Linked DNA regions of Homo sapiens: regions 2 and 3 are each linked to region 1. Evidence: promoter capture Hi-C in human tissues and cell types (Jung and others, 2019). All regions are on one chromosome and are shown on one strand. Each heading gives the region's core, a stretch centred on a gene start or on the middle of the fragment in contact. The rest is flanking DNA. Distances are from core to core; before and after follow the strand shown. Region 1 holds the start of SOWAHB (sosondowah ankyrin repeat domain family member B). Region 2 overlaps SHROOM3 (shroom family member 3). Region 3 overlaps SHROOM3 (shroom family member 3).

Region 1 (3,252 bases), core at 533-3,032:
GAGGGACCTCCTTAACTTAGGAACTGGCCAAGGCAAAGGCTTCAGGGGGTGGCCTGCAAGGCCATTAGCCCCTGCAGGGACCTGCTGAGAGATGTGACCATCCCCTCTGTTTCTGAGACCCTGAGGGCTCCGGCTGGGGCTGCCCTCCTTCCGAGATACAGAAAGGCCCCCAGCTGGATTCCTGAGCTTCCCCCTATCTGGGGTTCCCAAGACAACCTGCAGCCCCTCTTCAGAAGCCCCCGGGGAGTCTTTGGGCCCACTGCTGCTCTCCTCACTGCCATCACTCTCCTGGTCCACAAAGTCATCCAGATCTTGGAGGGACAGCTGACAACGAATGCTGCGAAAGACAGTCAATGAAGGGTTCCCCGCCCAGGATTCCCAGGACTCATCCGGAACAACAGGAAAGAGAGAGTGCGAGGAAAGACAGGGGTCTGGCGGCTCTGAATTAGGCTCCGTGGAGCCGGGTTCCAAGGGCAGCTGGAGGAAGTTGTCTGGCAGCACCGACCAGGCGCGGATAGGGCCCTGATCACGGGCCTCGGGCACCTGCGGGTGCCTGGCCACCCACTCTCGAGTGCGCTGCTGCTGCTGCTGCAGGGTCGAATAATGCAGGGAGCTGGGGGTCAGCAGCTCCGGCCGGTCTCCGCGGGGAGCGGGGCCGGGCAGGAGAGCAGGCGGGGAAGCCCTGCTTGTCGCAGCCTCGACGGTGGCGGGAGGCGAGTGAGCCACTGCAGGCACAGGCGCCGGCTCAGCTAGCGCGCCTTCTTCCCGCTCCCTGGAAGCCCCGCGGTCATCCTGGGCAGGCAGAGCCCGTGCCGGCTTCTCCTCCGCGGTGGCCGAGTGCGGGAGTGCGCCGAGCTCTCCCGGCAGTACAGCCAGGTTGTTCTGGAGGCATTCCCAGCAGCAGCGGCCCTGCGTCTTCGCCGCCGCGCAGCTCGCTCTCGCCTGGGCCCCTGCCGCTGCAGCTGCGGGCACCGGCGGCCTCTGTCCGGGACTGCCCTTCGATCCGCCGCCCTTCCCGGGCGCCCTACGGGAGTCGCTGCCCGGGAGTCCATTGCAAGCTGCGTCGGCGGCTCTGGCTGCTGCACCTGCTGGCTCCTCCTCCGGCTCCTTCTCGCGCCGCCGCCGCCTGGGCTGCTGCTGGGGCGGCTCCCCCCGGCGCGCGCCTCGCGGGGAGCAGGGCGCAGCTCCCCCTGCACTGGGGGCGGCCGCGGGCGGCTCGCGGGGTCGCTGCAGCCCCTCCTCCCCCAAAAGGTCCCTGTATCTCCTCTTGAGCACCACGTACTTGGTGCCGTCGGGGTCCTGGCGCACTGCGGCGACCGAGTTGACGAAGCCCTTGAAGAGCTCGCGGCGGTGCTGGTGCTGGCTGGGGGACGCGTCGGGGTCTCGGAGAAAGCTCTTGAAGTGGCTCAGCAAGGCAGCGTTGGTCACGCGGCCCCCAGCCTGGCACAGAAAGTCCAGTAGTGCCTCCTGGCTCAGCTCTCGGGCCATCGCTGCCTTGTCCTCCGCCCCAGAGGTGTCTGAGTCTCGCCCTCCCGGGGCTCTCCCCAGCCAGAGGAAACCCTGGCCGGGCGAGTGTCACCTGCGCCCGGGGCGGCACTAGCCGCCCCCATCAGCCGCGGAGGCCAGCGCTGCCCGCAGCCCGTGAGCGCGCCAGGAGGGCCGTGGGTCCCCTCCGGGTGGCCCCAAGGCTGAGTCCCCGCGGCAGTCTGCGTGAGAGAGGGCGGCTCCGAGGCCGCCCCTGCGCGACTCTAGCCTCTCGCAACGAGTCCTCACAGCGAAAGTTCCCGGGATAGGGCCGAGTCGGTTTCACCTGCGCCCTGGCGGCACCTCCTCCCTGCCTCTGGGGGAAGGGTCAGGCCCGCCTCCTCGTGTCCCTCCGCCCCCTGAGGTCTCCCCCACCCCCTGCCACCCATCCCAGAAGAGTCAGGCCGGAGAGCCAGCCGGTAGGTGAGGTTGGCGGCGAACCGAGCCGGCAGCGAACTGCTCTGCGGCCGGGGAAGTGGAAGGCAGGTAGGCGACCGGCCGTTCCTCTAAGTCTCCGCCACGCAGGAAACAAAAGCGATAGAAGGTCCGTTCCTGTCCTCCGGTGCTTTGATGAGTTCAGGCTGAAGCCGATGGGGGAGGAGGAGAAGCTGCAAGTTAACAGGCAATCTGAGTTATCTTTCTTTATTAACGCTGTAGAGGAGTACTTCAGATTTCTCGAGGCTGTATTGAGGTCCGCAAAACTCACTTTGCATCCAAACTAAATTTTTCTTAATATAGAAATACTTTCTGGGCCGCTTCTCCGGCGCCCCCTCCAAGGGGTCCGAATACATCCAAGTCTATACTGAAAAGAGAAATCACTCTGAAAATTACTACTGGGCAATATTGGTTTGGGACTTTTTCTTTCATACTTGTCTTTCCTTCATACTTGTCTCACATTAAGGTGCTGGAAAAAAAAAATCACTTTGATAGCTTCTTGCCCCCGGCGGCTAAAATGAACTAGGAATTATGTCTCGCCAGTTAAGGTATTTGATGTGTAGCATTAGTTTGCTTTTATTTACTCTAAAATTTGTGAACAGCAGAGATTTGTACAGTGTTTTGTATTGGCTTGGTGAAGTGCTTCCTTTCAGAATGTAAGGTTCAAAATGCAGACTAGAGCTGTCTTTAACAGCACCTTTTCCCCCTAACAGCTGGGATCCCTCTTCCTTTTTCTCTCTCCACATGTTGACCCTTCTGTCTTTGATGTGAGATCCTGGATGTCCCTCACTGTTCCTTATCAGTCCTGTTGACATGCCTGAGATAGTTTTCACTGTCATTATCTCTTTACCTGTTTTAGTTCCAAGCCTTCTCTCATTCTTTTCTTTAACTTGGCCTTCCCATTTCTTTCTGTTACACGACATCCTTGTTTACCTTCGGCCTCTACTGACAGGAAATATGTCTGTTTCTCAGATCCTCTCATGTCCACTGTATTTCCCATTCAAAAACCTCGATTTTCTCCTTCCCTGTAATTTGCCTCTCTTTTCTCATGGACTCTTCTCATCTTTTCACTTTTCCTTTTGCTCTTCTATTTCTGATTACTCATAGTTCCTATACTTCTCGCCAAGAAAGAGTATTGAAAGTATGTGTGTTGGCCCTACAATTGTTGACAAAGACATGTTTTAGCATGGACCAATCTTAGTGACTGCCCTATAGACCACATTAACTGAGCTTGATTTTAAATCCCCAAAAATACCCTAGCACTTTTCCAGGAATGAATCTTTGGTTTTACAT
Region 2 (3,252 bases), core at 431-2,930, 340 kb before region 1:
AACATGTGGGCAATTCTGGAGAGTAATTACTAAAAAAAGAGAAAATATGGGTGAGGTTTTGTTTACTCAGGTTTTGTTTTTGTTTTCCCCTTTACTTCCCTTTCATTGTTATTGACGTCTATAAGTATCCATTGGCATGTGACCCAGATCGAGCCTTATTTTCCTGTTTCCAAAGCATATGATTAATTTCTAACGTACTACATTACTTACTTGTTTATTATGTTTATTGTTTGCTTCCCCTCCTCTGCCCATTAACTTAAGCATCAGAAGATCAAAAGGTTTTTGTCTATTTTGTCCACTTTTATAGCCCAAGCACTTGGAAAAATTTCTGATGTAAAGCAGGTGTTGAATAACTTTGTTGACTGAATAATAGTGCAGGACATTTTTGTTTTGTTTTGTTTTGTTTTGAGACAGAGTCTCGCTCTGTCGCCTAGGCTGGACTGGAGTGGAGAGCAGTGATGCAATCTCGGCCCACTGCACCTCCACCTCCTGGTTTCTTTTCTTTTCTCTTTTATTTATTTATTTTTTTTGAGACGGGGTCTCGCTCTATCACCCAGGCTGAAGTGCAGTGGCATGATCTCTGCTCACTGCAACCTCCACCTCCCAGGTTCAAATGATTTCCCTGCCTCAGCTTCCCGAGTAGCTGGGATTACAGGCATGCACCACCACACTCAGCTAATTTTTGTGTTTTTAGTAGAGACGGGGTTTCACCATGTTGGCCAGGCTGGTCTCGAACTCCTGACCTCAGGTGATCCACCCACCCCGGCCTCCCAAAGTGCTAGGATTACAGGCATGAGACACCGCACGAGGCCCACCTCGTGGTTTCAAGCGATTCTCCCACTTCAGCCTCCCAACTAGCTGGGATTACAGGTGTGTGCCACCACACCCGTCTAATTTTTGTATTTTTAGTAGAGACAGGGTTTCACCACATTGCGCAGGGTGGTCTTGGACTCCTGAGCTCAGGCAATCCAAATCCACCTGCCTCAGCCTCCCAAAGTGCTGGGATTACAGGCGTGAGCCACTGTGCCCAGCCAGCGTATTTATTTTTTAAGAGCAATATTAGGTTCATAAAAAAAAGACGAATGGAAGGTGCAGATATTTCCCATGTATCTGCTGCCCACACATACACATAGCCTCCCCCACTATCAAAATCCTGCACCAGAGTGATACATTTATTACAACTGATGAACCTACATGGACATCTCCTGTCACCCATAGTTTATAGTAGGTTCACTCTTGGTGCTGTACATTCTATGGGTTTTGACAAATGTACAAGGCATGTGTCCACCACTACAATATCATATCGAATGGTTTCACTGCCCTAAAATATTCTGTGCCACCATATTCATCCTACCCTTCCCTTTAACCTCAGCCACTGCTGATCTTTTTACTGCCTCCCTAGTTTTGCCTTTCCTACAATGTCATACACTTGAAATTGTGTGGTATGTAGCCTTTTCAGACTGGCTTCTTTCACTTAGAAATATGCATTTTAAGTTTCCTTCATGTTGTTTCATGGTTTGATAGCTCATTTCTTTTCAGTGCTGAATAATATTCCATTGTCTGAATGTACTACTTTATGTATCCAATGAATTATAATTTTAGAACAAAAAGTAAGGTAAGAGGAACACAACTTTTTTTTGTTGTTTTTTGTTTGTGTTTTTTTTTTTTTTTTTTGAGACGGAGTCTCACTCTGTCACCCAGGCTGGAGTGCAGTGGCGTGATCTCAGCTCACTGCAAGCGTCGGCTCTTGGGTTCATGCCATTTTCCTGCCTCAGCCTCCTGAGTAGCTGGGACTACAGGTGCCTGCCACCATGCCTGGCTAATTTTTTTGTATTTTTAGTAGAGATGGGGTTTCACCGTGTTAGCCAGGATGGTCTCGATCTTCTGACCCTGTGATCTGCCAGCCTTAGCTTCCCAAAGTGCTGGGATTACAGGCATGAGCCACCGTACCCGGCCAGAGGAACTCAACTTCTAATGTAACCCGTCCCCAACCCCCAGGCCACGGACCATTACAGTGGTCTGTTAGCAACCAGGCCGCACAGTAGGAGTGGATGAGTAAGTGAAGCTTCATTTGTATTTACAGCTGCTCCCCATTGCTCACATAACCACCCGAGCTCTGCCTCCTGTAAGATCAGTGGCAGCATTAGATTCTCACAGGAGCCCGAACCCTATTGTGAACTACACATGCGAGGGATCTAGGTAGCACACTCCTTATGAGAATCTAATGCCTGAAGATCTGTCACTATCTCTCATCGCCCCCAGTGGGACCATCTAGTTGCGGGAAACAAGCTCAGGGCTCCGCTGATTCTATGTTATGCTGAGTTGTATAATTATTTCATTATATGTTATAATGAAAAAATAATAAAGTGCACAATAAATGCAACGCACTTGAACCACGCCAAAACCATCCGCCCACACCCCATCCGTGGAAAAATTGTCTTCCACAAAACTGGTCCCTGGTGCCAAAAAGTTTGGGGACTGCTCTTCTAAAGGGATAAAACAGTTGCCCTGAGTGGACTTTTTGAAGATGTAAAGCAAGGGCTGGGGAGATGTCCTGAGCACCGTGGGATAATGGCCTTTGGATGGAAACTGAGTTCTGTCGTTCATTCAGCTGATGTTTAAGGGCGCCCTCCCTGGGCAGGCAGGGTGCTGGTTCTTGAGGGTGTGGACACCCAGAGCCAGTCCCTGCGCTCTCACAGTTTTCCCTCTGGCTGCAAGCGCTGGGGTGTGGCCCTAGCTGGTCCGTTGGGCTCTGCAGGAGTCTAAGCTGGGCTCGGGATAGCCGGACAGACCCCAGGCCAGGGGAAAGCTCACTCGTGGCTGTCGCATCTCTCCCTCCAAGCAGGTCGAAGAAGGGGGCAAAGCAGACACCCTGAGCTCCAAACTGCAGGCTGGGGATGAGGTTGTGCACATCAATGAGGTGACTCTGAGCAGCTCCAGAAAGGAGGCAGTTTCCCTGGTGAAAGGATCCTACAAGACCCTCAGGCTGGTAGTGCGCAGGTAGGTGGCAGACCCCCACCCTGTCCCTCCTACCACCTCACCCCACCTCTCTCCCTACCCTACCCCACCTCTGGGAAAAGAGCTCGGGGTTGGTAGCTTGGCTTTAAACCTCCATGTATGGATCCTGCCTTTTTTTCTTTTTTCTTTCCTATCTTGTGGGATGTGGGGAGGAAGTGGGGTGAAGACATTTCAGACACTGCTGTCTTTCAGAACACTCATTTCCCAGCAGGTACTGGTTTGTCAGGGATAGAC
Region 3 (3,252 bases), core at 370-2,869, 300 kb before region 1:
ACAGAGCTACAGTTTTTGTTCCCATTTAACAGGTTAAACAATTGAGATACAGGGAACTAATCCAAAGTCTCACAGTGACAGGGACTTGAACCCAGGTCATCTGTCAACAGAGTCTGTGCTCTTAGCTGCTACATTGGATTTCTCATCCACAAAATGTCTAATCCTATGTGCTCTTTTTATTTGTTGTAGCTCTCCTGTTGATTCAGAGGGAAAACTGATATGGCATATTATTACACTTTATTGCCCTCTGTGAGGGCAGAGAACATAACCTATTGATACCAGTGCCTAGTGTAGCGCCTGGTGCATGCAGATACTCAAATATTTGTTGACTGAGTGAGGGAGTGAGGGTGTGACATGAATAAACAATAGTAAGGCCATAGAAATGCCATCCTAGTCTCAAGAGTCACAGAGATGTATGTAATCGCAGGATGTCACTTACATAAAAACTTTAACTTTGAAAAGTTAAAAAACATAAAATTAGAGGTGAGGACATCATGGGACAATTACAGTGTTTGAACCAGTGTCAACAATTTCATCCCTTGTTAGGCACTCATTCATAGTTTAATTAATAAATCACATTGCATTGGAAGTGTAGCTCCAAAGGACCCTGATGTCAGACTAACACCTGCTATGTGACAATTGGGGAGGGAACAGGGAACCATTGGAACGCCATGAATTCCACTAAATCAGTGCAAATCTGGATTTGGTGCATTTAACAAATGGACATTGAGACTCACAGATTTGTTATGGAGTAGAGAAAGGAAGCCTGAATCTTGACAATGCCAGTATCTAAGGGAACATTTGGGTGTATTGAACATAAACCCACTAAGACCAACTCAAATAAAAAGAGATGAAGATATCAAGATATGAAGGAAGCTTGTGAAATCCAACTATAGGAAGCCAGGAACACCTCAACATTAACTTAGTGGTGAAAAGCTCTTAGAGTCAGAAGGCCTGCATGTGAGTTCCAACCTTGGCATTGCTGAATTTGTGACCTTGGATAAGTTACCTCATATTTCTGAACCTCATTTACTTGTCTAAAAAGAAGGAATAATCAAAGTTTCTACCTTGTTGTGTTGTTGTGTAGTTTCAGTGAGATAATACATATAAAGCACTTGGAACACTGCCTGACACGTAATAGGAACTCAGTAACCATTAACTCTTATTATTATTTAGAAAGTAGGCAGCTATTCACTTTCTTTTTGGATTACATAGTTGTTCATTTCAGCTGACTTTGAACGTCAGTTCCATTGCTCTGTCTGCAGACTGGCTTTCTGACAGACATGGTGCCAGGGTTAATTTAATGGCATGGTGATGTCATCAAAGCTCCAGGTTTGTCTGTGTTTTCATTCTGCCACCCTTAGCATGATGATTTTCTTCCTTACATTTGTTCCTCATGGTTGCAAGGTGTTTGCTGCAGCTCCAGGCATCACGTCCTCACAGAGTCTTGTCCAAACAAGGGAAGGAGTTCTAGTTTTGTGTATTTCATCAAGAATGAGAAATACTTTTTCAAAAATCCTCCTGCAAACTCTCTTTTTTTAGGAGTCAGATCTCATTAGTTAGGCTTATGTCCTATATCCTTGCCTACACTAGTAACTGGCAGGGAGTCAGATTACCAAGAATAGTATAGACCAGGCATGGTTAATCCCTTAGGGTGATGAAGGAGCTGCCTTTCTGAGCACATCATTATCTGATCCTGCAATGGAATCAAAATTATACTTGTGGAGTAAAACAGGGGACAGTAACCATTGAGTAAACAATTATGAGGGCCTGTTTTAGATAAGCAAGTTTCTAAGCCAGGCAAATCAGAGTGTTTCTTTGTAATTTTATCTTTTTGTACATGGAGTCTAAGAGGAGGCAGAACTCTTGCAGTTGTTAATCTGGGATAAGGTAAACCTGAAGTTCTCTGCTCCATGGTTGTTTTCTGTGTACTTTACCCCTGCATGCACACACACTGAATCCTATTGCAAAGATAAAAGTGAGGTCTTTTTTTTCACCTTGCTCTCTCTGTCTATATACTGTCATGCACCCCATAATAATTTGGGTCAATGATGGACCCCATGCATGACAGTGGTTCCATAAACTGATAATGGAGCATACACAGAAGTGATATATAGTACTTGATATTATCCCTGCAGATCAAGTAGGGGAAATGTTTGATATTCAGTAATGTGCTGGGACATTTTCATATGAAAAAATAGAGAGCCAGGTGTGGTGGCTTGTGCCTATGATCCCAGCTACTTGGGAGTTAGAGGCAAGAGGATGGCTGGAGCCTGGGAGGTAGAGGCTACAGTGAGCTGTGATCACACCACCGTACTCCAGCCTGGGCAACAGAGCAAGACCCTGTCTCTAAAAAGAAAAGCAAAAGATGTTGTGTATAACATCTGGGTTTGTGTAAATACTGTCTGTGATGTTTGTATGATGAAATTGCCTAATCAGGCATTTCTGGTCACATATCCCCATCATTCAGCAATGCATGACTGTGTCTAGATGTATAGGTAGGTAGATAGGTACAGAGAAACACACACACACACACACACACACACACACACACACACACACACTCTCCAACAGATGCTGCCTCTCCCAAGGAAGAACCTGACAATAATTTCCAGTCCCTGAGGCCATCTCCATCCCTGGCCTTCTCAAGAAATTCCCATTTTTGCTTGATTTTCTCTGTGGGTTCAATGTTACTGTGTCATTTGCAACAACAATAACAAAATCCCATCAGAAGCATTCTCCTAAGCTTCTGGGATTCTGTCCCCTACATCTACTAGTGTGTGGCCCTGGCTCACCCCGGAGCCATCACTGGGCTCTACCCCATGTGCCCCACAGCTCTAGAGCCTTATCACCTGACACTCTCAGCCTTGCCCCAGCACCAGGTCGCACCAGCCGCAATGTGAACAGCTCTGCCTATAGCTGAGGAAGAGCTGGTCTAGCCTCACCCCTTCAACTGGGGCTTGATCAGGACCTGTTCTCCTAGAATAGACGGCAACGGAGAGACAGTAACCTCTGTCTCTGATAAAAGGGTGTAATATCTGCCAAGTCTTTCCTAAAGAGACTCAGCAAAAGAGACCACCCTACTGACAAGTACATGTTTCATAAATAAAATGACTTTATTTCAGATATACAAGTGCCTTTGACAGGGAGTTTAAATCTGGTGGCTGTATTCCTTTTGGCCTGACTTAAATAGGAGAAGAGAATTGTGGTTTCCTATCAGTGGGAAATTAGTAAAGGATTCGAGGAGTGAGT

Evidence for each region. Contacts are between HindIII fragments. The study calls those that stand out against the background at their distance.
Region 2: a contact is called between a fragment that was not itself captured here and the fragment with the promoter of SOWAHB in region 1, in 1 of the 25 tissues and cell types used here (mesendoderm cells).
Region 3: a fragment that was not itself captured here is called in contact with the fragment with the promoter of SOWAHB in region 1 in 2 of the 25 tissues and cell types used here (H1 embryonic stem cells and stomach).

The regions. Positions count from the first base shown.
Region 1 is chr4:76,896,362-76,899,613 of GRCh38, forward strand. It overlaps SOWAHB (sosondowah ankyrin repeat domain family member B), which reads right to left and starts at 1,783. Exons shown (of 1, transcript NM_001029870.3): 1 at 1-1,783. The coding sequence starts at 1,488. RefSeq lists silencers at 1,134-1,243, 1,504-1,803, 1,874-1,943. The HindIII fragment of the contact is 8,540 bases long and covers 1-3,252 here.
Region 2 is chr4:76,552,764-76,556,015 of GRCh38, forward strand. SHROOM3 (shroom family member 3) reads left to right here. Exons shown (of 11, transcript NM_020859.4): 2 at 2,846-3,000. Among named protein-coding and RNA genes, the nearest start is that of MIR4450, 19 kb to the right of the region's middle. The HindIII fragment of the contact is 3,492 bases long and covers 1-3,252 here.
Region 3 is chr4:76,594,062-76,597,313 of GRCh38, forward strand. All of the region lies in intron 2 of SHROOM3 (shroom family member 3), which reads left to right. Among named protein-coding and RNA genes, the nearest start is that of MIR548AH, 20 kb to the left of the region's middle. The HindIII fragment of the contact is 3,809 bases long and covers 1-3,252 here.